Regions from separate parts of the Homo sapiens genome. Here all the other regions are linked to region 2. The links are contacts of gene promoters, found by promoter capture Hi-C in blood cells and fetal thymus (Javierre and others, 2016). All regions are on one chromosome and are shown on one strand. The core of a region is centred on a gene start or on the middle of the fragment in contact, and the rest is flanking DNA. Distances in the headings are between cores, read along the strand shown.

Evidence for each region. The method cuts DNA at HindIII sites, captures the fragments that hold promoters and counts their contacts. A CHiCAGO score of 5 or more calls a contact.
Region 1: a fragment that was not itself captured here is called in contact with the fragment with the promoter of SLC9A2 in region 2 in 2 of 17 cell types (M2 macrophages and endothelial precursors); the score reaches 5.7 in M2 macrophages.
Region 3: a fragment that was not itself captured here is called in contact with the fragment with the promoter of SLC9A2 in region 2 in 3 of 17 cell types (endothelial precursors, M1 macrophages and M2 macrophages); the score reaches 8.2 in endothelial precursors.

Annotation. Positions count from the first base shown.
Region 1 is chr2:102,489,721-102,492,420 of GRCh38, forward strand. The region is part of intron 2 of SLC9A4 (solute carrier family 9 member A4); the gene reads left to right. Among named protein-coding and RNA genes, the nearest start is that of SLC9A4, 18 kb to the left of the region's middle. The HindIII fragment of the contact is 2,652 bases long and covers 107-2,700 here.
Region 2 is chr2:102,618,155-102,620,854 of GRCh38, forward strand. It overlaps SLC9A2 (solute carrier family 9 member A2), which reads left to right and starts at 1,399. Exons shown (of 12, transcript NM_003048.6): 1 at 1,399-1,983. The coding sequence starts at 1,695. RefSeq lists a silencer at 1,007-1,116. The HindIII fragment of the contact is 5,203 bases long and covers 1-2,538 here.
Region 3 is chr2:102,453,146-102,455,845 of GRCh38, forward strand. No RefSeq gene overlaps it. Among named protein-coding and RNA genes, the nearest start is that of SLC9A4, 19 kb to the right of the region's middle. The HindIII fragment of the contact is 4,240 bases long and covers 1-2,700 here.

The sequences.
Region 1 (2,700 bases), core at 183-2,682, 130 kb before region 2:
AACACCTTGTTTAACTTCCCTATCCTGGGCTTCAGGTCTTTTTTTCCCCTCATTTAGGAGTGAGGTGAAAGAGCTTCCTCTCTTCTGCTTTTCACATTGTTATGCAAGCTTGCTAGGTAATTGCTGGTCTTCTTAGTTGGTTTCCTTTTGTGGTTGGAAAGTCAGAGAAGGTGGTTGCCAATAAACTGCCCATGACAGAGTTTACTATGCCAGAGCTCCTTAATACAAGCTAGAAAATGAACTGGGTTCATCATTTAATTTTTTGAGTCAGGTTGTTTACTACAGGTCTTTATGATATTCTTTGCATTTTTCCATTATTTGGCATGCAGGAAAGATCATTCTTATTGTATTATGTTGTGACTCTTAACTTCCAACGTTTTTTTTTTTTAACTTGACAGTAAAACAAATAAAGGGTCAGTAATTAGTTAGGCTTTTTGTTTTAAGAAACTGAGTTATGGCAAGCTCAAGCAGTGAAGATTAATTGTAAAGATATGCAAGGCGATGAGGAAGACATAGCCCTCTGTATTAGCCCTCTAGGGCTGTTGTAATAAAATAGCAGAGATTGGGGGGCTGAAACAATCTCTGAAATATGAAAGACTTTTATTCTTTCACATTATGGAGGTTGGAAGTCCAAGAACAAGATGTGGGCAGGGTTGGTTTCTGTTGAGGCCTCATTCCTTGCCTTGCAGGCAGCTACCTTCTTGCTTTGTCCTTATGTGGCCTTTCTTCTGTGTGACCCTCCCTAGTATCTCTTCATTTTCTTATAAGGACACCAATCATATTGGATTAAGGCCCCACCCTTATGATCTCATTTTAACTTAATGACCTCTTGAAAGATGCTGTCTCTATATGCAGTCACATTATCAGGTACTGGCAGTTAAACCCCAACATATAAATTTGGAGAGGGGGGCATGATTCAACCCGTAGCTGACCCCTCAGGAACCCAGGAATAATAAGTGCTTTATGATGAGGTGTCACAAAGGTTCATCTAGAACCAAGCTGCTTTTAGGAATTTCAGAAGCAAAAGTTCATAGATCTTTTACCATCAGGATGAACTTGATTATGCTGTGTAATAAGCATCTCTCCAAACCTAAATAGCCAAAAACAACAAAGGTTTATTTCTTACTTGTACTACTTGCCTTTTGCTAGCCAACAGGTCTCTCCCTTCATAATGTTTACTCAAGGTCTTTAGCTTATAGAGCAGTTACCATATTGAACATTGCTGGTCACTGTGCTGGAGGAAAGAGAGATTTCTGGAGGGTCTCACCTCAGCAAGCAAATGCCCCATTCTGGAAATGACATATATCTCTTCTATTTGAAACTCTCTCTTGTAATTCTTTCTTGAGAAAAAAACAAACAAAAACTCTCAAACTCAAAAGTTGGCCAGGCATAATCACATGGTGACAACCAACCTCAAAGAGACTAGAAGTGCAATCCTACAAGATTCCTAGAAGGGAAAGAAATATTGGATAAGCAGTACTAATAGCTATTACATTGTCATTTCGGAGCCTCATCAGGGATGCATTTGGTCGCTTGCTCACACTCTGCTGCTTTTTCAACTGAATTTTTTTATTTCTCTTCCCATTTGTACTAATGCTTTTTTTTTTTTTTTTTTTTTTTTTTTTTTTTTTTACTGTTAATGAAGAAATACCCGAGACTGGGTAATTTATAAAGAAAAAGAGGTTTCATGGACTCAAGCACCACATAGTTGGGGAGGCTTCACAATCATGGTGGAAGGCGAAGGAGGAGCAAAGCCACGTTTTACATGGTAGCAGGCAAGAGAGCATGTACAGGGGAACTGCCATTTATAAAACCACCAGATCTCATGAGACTTATTCATTATCACGAGAACAGCATGAGAAAAACCCACCCTATGATTCAATTACCTCCCACTGGGTCCCTCCCATGACAAGTAGGGATTATGCGAGCTACAATTCAAGATGAGATTTGGGTGGGAACACAGCCAAATCATATTGTTTTACCGCTGTCCCCTCCCAAATCTCATGTCCTCACATTTCAAAACCAATCATGCCTTCCCAATAGTTCCCCAAAGTCTTAACTCATTTCAGCATTAACTCAGAAGTCCACAGTCCAAAGTCTCATCTCAGACAAGGCAAGTCCCTCCCACCTATGACCCTGTAAAATCAAAAGCAAGTTAGTTCCTTCCTAGATACAGTGGGGGTAAAGGCACTGGGTAAATACACCTCTTCCAAATGGGAGAAATTGACCAAAATGAAGGGGCTACAGGCCCCATGCAAGTCCAAAATCCAGAAGGGCAGTCAAATCTTAAAGCTCCAAAATGATCTCCTTTGATTCCATGTCTCACATCCAGGTCATGCTAATGCAAGTAGGTTCCCATGGTCTTGGGCAGCTCTGCCCCTGTGGCTTTGCAGGGTACAGCCCCCACCTCCCCCACCACCCCAGCTGCTTTCATGGGCTGGTGTTGAGGGTCTGTGGCTTTTCAAGGTACAAGCTGTCAGTGGATCTGCCATTCTGGGGTCTGGAGGCCTGTGGCCTTCTTCTCACAGCCCCACTAGGCAGCACCCAAATGGGGAGTCTGTGTGGGGGCTCCAACTCCACATTTTCCTTCTGCACTGTCCTAGCTGAAGTTCTCCATAAGGGCCCTGCCCCTGCAGAAAACTTCAGCCTGGACATCCAGGCATTACCATACATTCTATGAAATCTAGGCAGAGGTTCCCA
Region 2 (2,700 bases), core at 149-2,648:
TGAAAAACTGATGCTTTGTGAAATATCAAATGAAGTAGTGCTCTGTAACATCTCCCAGAATTCTTCTCTCTTTTTAGCCTGGACTTGTCCCTCCATTACTTTGAAGACCCAAAGAGGACTGTTCCTTATTTTCTTCTATGCAGGTGGAGGATTTTTTTTTCTTGTACCCTCTGCTGACATCTCACTGATTTTCTATGTTAGAACTTTGAAAGAAAAAAAAAAAAAAAACGGCTTTGAAGGTCGAACTGCCTGGTGTTTGTTTAATAGTAGAAGCCACGTGTTTTGACACATCAAAGATTAAGAAAAGAGAAGGATTTTATTTCATAAATATCAAAGGGAAAACTTTCAGTTAATTGAATGGCAACTAGTCCCCTTTGTGCTCATTTCGGTTTCTGGCGATAAAGATGCTCAAACAGTGAGATCGCAACCAGTGAAGGAGGCGCTCTGAAGGACAGGAAAGGTTGGCTCTGCATGAGAAAGCCCTTTTAGATCCAGAAGAAGAATCACGCTTCCTTTCTTTTCCTGACCACAGCCTGTCCTGTAATTAGCGGAGCAAGTCAATCTGAGCGAGGCAAATCACTGGTTTTCCATGAAATAATTATATTTCTTATGCTCTTGGACATGTACACCTCTAAGCCTAAAAGCGGAGAAAGATGTTTTGGTTTTTTTTACGTGAGCTGGGGGAGGGAGAAGAAAAGTGGCAGCGACAGTGTAGCAAATGGGTGAAAGCAGCACAATGTGGCAAGAGGAGAGAACAGGATTCCGATTCCGTGGGGGCGTGGGAACACTGAGTTCCGCGCAGGGAGTTTCCCTGTTCAGAGCACCTTGTGCGCGAGTTGATAACTCTCGGAAAGGAAACAAAATTTGGCTTTCCTAAACTTTCTGTACGTCCAGAGAATCCCATGCCTTGTCTTGGCCTCCGCAGCGCCAGGCTGGGGTGACAGCACTCCTCCTCCACCGGCCCGGGCTTCTCCTCCGGACCGCGAGCCTGTGGCGCCTCCCCGCGCGCCCAGCGCACCGGGGTGTCCCCTTGGAGGAGCCTGCGGGGGCGGGGGAGGAGGGAAGGGCGCGACTCGTGGGTCGCGCTGGTTCCTTCACTGGATGGACGTCCGACGCTGCCTCCGGGGCGGAGACAGCTCCGGCCACCATGCGCCCGTTGCGGCGATTCCACCCACAGTTCGCTGGCTCTGGGGGTGGCGGGTCTTGGCGCGCGGTGCCTGCGCGAAGGGAGGGCAGCCATCGCCCCCGCGGTCACTGGGGCCCCGCGTTCCCCGCGGGCTCGGGCAGGTGCGCGGTGTGCCGGCCAGGTCCCCTTGTCCTCCTGCCCTGCGGCTTGGGCGCCGCGCCCGCCCCGCCCCCGCCCGCGGGCCGCCCTGGGCAGGGCCTGCCGCTGCGGCTGGAGAGCAGCGCACCGGCATGGGCAGGCGGCCGGCGGCGGAGGGCGGCTGAGGGCTGCTGAGGGTACGCGCAGCGGCCTCTCGTCGCCCTGCACGTGCCTCGCCAGGCAGTGCGCCTGCTCGCAGCGAGGACCTAGCCCTCTGGTTGCAGAGACCCGGTGCCGCAGCAGCGGCGGGTGGCTGTCGCTGCCCTGCCCTGCACGGGGCAGGGCGGAGCGGGCTGAGCAGCCCGGGCGCGATGCGTTGAGCGCTCGGAGGGCCAACCGCCGGTCCCCTTGGCGGCAACCGGCGGCACCCATGGAACCACTGGGCAACTGGAGGAGCCTGCGGGCGCCACTGCCTCCGATGCTGTTGCTGCTGCTCCTGCAGGTGGCGGGGCCCGTGGGCGCCCTGGCGGAGACCTTGCTGAACGCGCCGAGGGCCATGGGCACCAGTTCCAGCCCGCCTAGCCCTGCGAGCGTGGTGGCTCCCGGAACGACGCTGTTCGAGGAGAGCCGGCTGCCTGTGTTTACGCTGGATTACCCCCACGTGCAGATCCCCTTCGAGATCACCCTTTGGATCCTGCTGGCCTCCCTGGCCAAGATTGGTGAGCGAACTGGACTTGTGGGGAATGGGAGGGGGCGATCTCGGGGGGACACCTGGAGGGTGACCGGGTCAGCCAGCTGACCTCTAGATAGTGACCGCCTCATCTTGAATCAGGGCAGGGACGACAGATGGAGCAGCTTCTTCTGGTTGAAAAGGACCCTTGGAAGAGCAGTTTCGCGTTTTGGTTCTTAAGGGAACATTGGCCTTGAAATGGCCCCAAGTGTAAGTTCTACAAACTCAGCGATTGCTGCTTACTTCTGCCGCACGGAACGCCAAGTTTGTCAGCTCTCTGCTTAAGTTGAGTGAGATCTGTTTATTGAAGTGTACCAGTCTCACCTGCAGGGAGAGAGGTGCCGACGAACCCCGGAGCTATGCATAATGTGGTTAAAACCCTGGATGCTACAGGAGAGAGGCGCCTTGGCAGTGACACAGACCCTGCTGTGCGCCTGACTAATGAGGTGCATGGAAGGGGACCAGGGACACCTGAGTGCTTGCAGCTGCAATAGGAACGCCCTTTCTCCTCCCTCTATTGGGTTGAGGCTGTCACTCTCCAGGAAGCTTTTGCTTCGGGGTGGCTGAGGCCAGTGAGGTGAGATGCATATTTAAAAATAATTAACTCTGGGCCCAGGACAATGGCCCAGCCTGTAATCCCAGCACACTGGGAGGCCCAGACGTGAGGATCCCTTGAGGCCAGGAGTTCAAGATCATCATGGGCAAC
Region 3 (2,700 bases), core at 34-2,533, 170 kb before region 2:
TAATTTCAGCTCCTCCTTGTGATGTCGGCCAGAGATCTTTGTGTTAGGTATAAAAGTGTAAATCCTTACCCTGGGCCCCTGGAAGTACAGACCAACTGGACCAAAATGATCAGGCCAATGAAGAGACAAGGAATGCACTTGCAGTGACATACAAAGCAGAGAGACACTGGCCAGAGTCAGCAGTGCAGCTAAGAGTCTGGGGAATAAGGATATACACTGGTTAAACAGCAGCAAGAATGGAATGTGAACAGAGCTGTAGCCTGAACCTTCTGCTGAGGCTGGCGATCCTATGGGCTTCCGATCTGGGCGTCTCCCTTTAAGTTCTCCTAAGTAATAAGGTGATGGGCTGCAGGGCCATGAAACTGTTTCTGATAGACGAGGCCAATTTCCTCCTCATAAGTGTGTTTCCTTTACCAGAGTTTAACCTGCAGTTAAAATAGTGTTCCACTCACGTATAAACATCAAGCTCTTATACTCTGTCTTTTCTGAAGGAATAAAATGATTTATCATCTGAGCAATAAATAAAAGCAATGTCTGGACTCATTCACATGCAGTGTGTCACACCCACCAGTCTGGATGTGATCCAAGTTCAGAGTGGCTAAAAGTCATTGTCGTCTTGGGGCCTGCGTGAAACACTCTTCTGCTCTTTATTCACAGAGGCACCCACATCATAAAAACCACTGTGGCTTTGGCACCAAGCAACATCCTTGTTGGAAATTTCAGTGATAAAGTTAACAATGAGTTAAAGGGTATAAATTATTCTTGGAGGAAGTTTCTTGTGGGAAGGATCATTGCAGGGTCTCAGTGAAGAGGAGCCCATATTGTCACTGTGCCATTGTGCTTTGGTGATGGCCAGGATCCCTGGCCTTCCTGCCCGCCACTCTCTGAGATTTAAGACTCAGACTTCTTTTGGCCACTTTGTTCAGTTTATCCTAAGATAGATAATGCTAGAACCAAGCTATTCAGATGTCCAGCGTTTTGACCTTAGCTTCGTGGAAAATCAAATAGAGCTTCAGGTTAGCACATACACAAAAGGAGAAATAGCCAGCTGTAATATTTACAGAATACACTCTTTCCAGGCTGCTAGGTACACTGAACATAACAAGGTAGCATTCGGGACAGGGGGCTATTTATATTTCTTATATGTCAATTAACCACAACAAAGCAGACAACCAAAACAAATTTTCTATGTATAGGAGACTGATTGCAATAGAACAATTGGACTCAGTGGAATATAATTAGAAAAGAGTATTATTTCCCTGTCACATCTTCTGAGGTGTCCATATGTTCTAGTTCCTGGTTGCACCTATTGTCCAAGTATAATTATTATAGTACTCTCTTTCACTCTGAAAAAGTGTCCTACCTTGGATGATGGTCACTCTACCTCTAACACTCATCATAGAGAACTCCTTACTGACCCTTCTATGATAGCCCGAGCAGTTCTCATAGCTTTCCTGGTCCTTTTCGGGTTTTAATACCTACATTTAACATCTATATCATTTCTAGGTTAAAATTCTAGGTAAGATGGAGTGAACAACACCATCCTGTCTCTTCCTCCTAGTGCAGCCATAAAGTCTGGATAAAAATGCATCAAAAATCAATTTGAGTATTCTGAAAAGTAAATAGAAGCAGACGGATTGGGGAAGACAATAATTCAAAGTCTCATAATTTGTCTCCAGTCTCTTCTGACTTAGACTCAGTACAGTCTGAAACCCAGAAGTAGACATCAGTGATAACAGAAAGAGCTTCAGAAGAAGCACTCTAGTTCTGGCTTGAAGACTGAGAAAGAGTTTCCTAGCCCTTCCATATTTTCCCTTTCATTTTCTTTCATTGCCCACTCTCTAAGCAATCCTGTGGTAGCACCAGTGACACCACCAAAAGCAGTGGTATTAGCGGCCCTCGAGAGCCTAAATCTCCAGGAAAGGGAATTGTCCACCTTGATATGAGGACCTGTAGTCCCAGTAGGGTGTGGCAAGCCTCTGTTGATGTTTTATTCTTTCTTTATCCTCTTACCTTTTCGTGAGGTGGATGTAAGCAGTTGTAGGAAGTGCACTGCAGAGTGAAGTAAATAAAGCCTCAATGCTTTGGCCAGAGAACTGCACAGAGGAGGAGAGTACAGGCAGAAAGGAGCTCAGGAAACTGAATCCATAAAATTGTTTATAAACCTTTGGACCCATTCCCAAGCTGTGCATGTATGAATCTGATCCTAAAGGGAATACCATAAACTTTCAGAACTGAGCTATAGGAGAGATCACTTTCTGAGTTCCAGACTGGCTGCTGAAAGGTATAAATATGAAGTAGGTCCAAATAGAACTGAAAGGCAGTGAAACAAAACTGAAATTGAAACCACAGGCTTAGTTTGGAGCCTTAATCCCACTGGGCTAATTGCCTGTTGAAGCAGAAATAACATAATACATAAGATTTCAACAAGATCTAGAATCGTATAACATAATGTTTAAAACATCCAGGCTGTAATTTGTTAAAAGCAAAATTATGACATTTTCTGGTAGGATTTTCAATATAGGTAGATGTAATGCAACATAAAGGAGGGCAGGTAAGGGGCCCAGATGACGGTAAGGTGTCTATTTCCCACTTGAAGTGGCACACTATTGATTCTAAGTAGAATGTGAAAGTTGTGTGTAATATTTTATTCCATTGAGTAACCGTTAACACAAACAAACAAAACATCAAATATTGTTA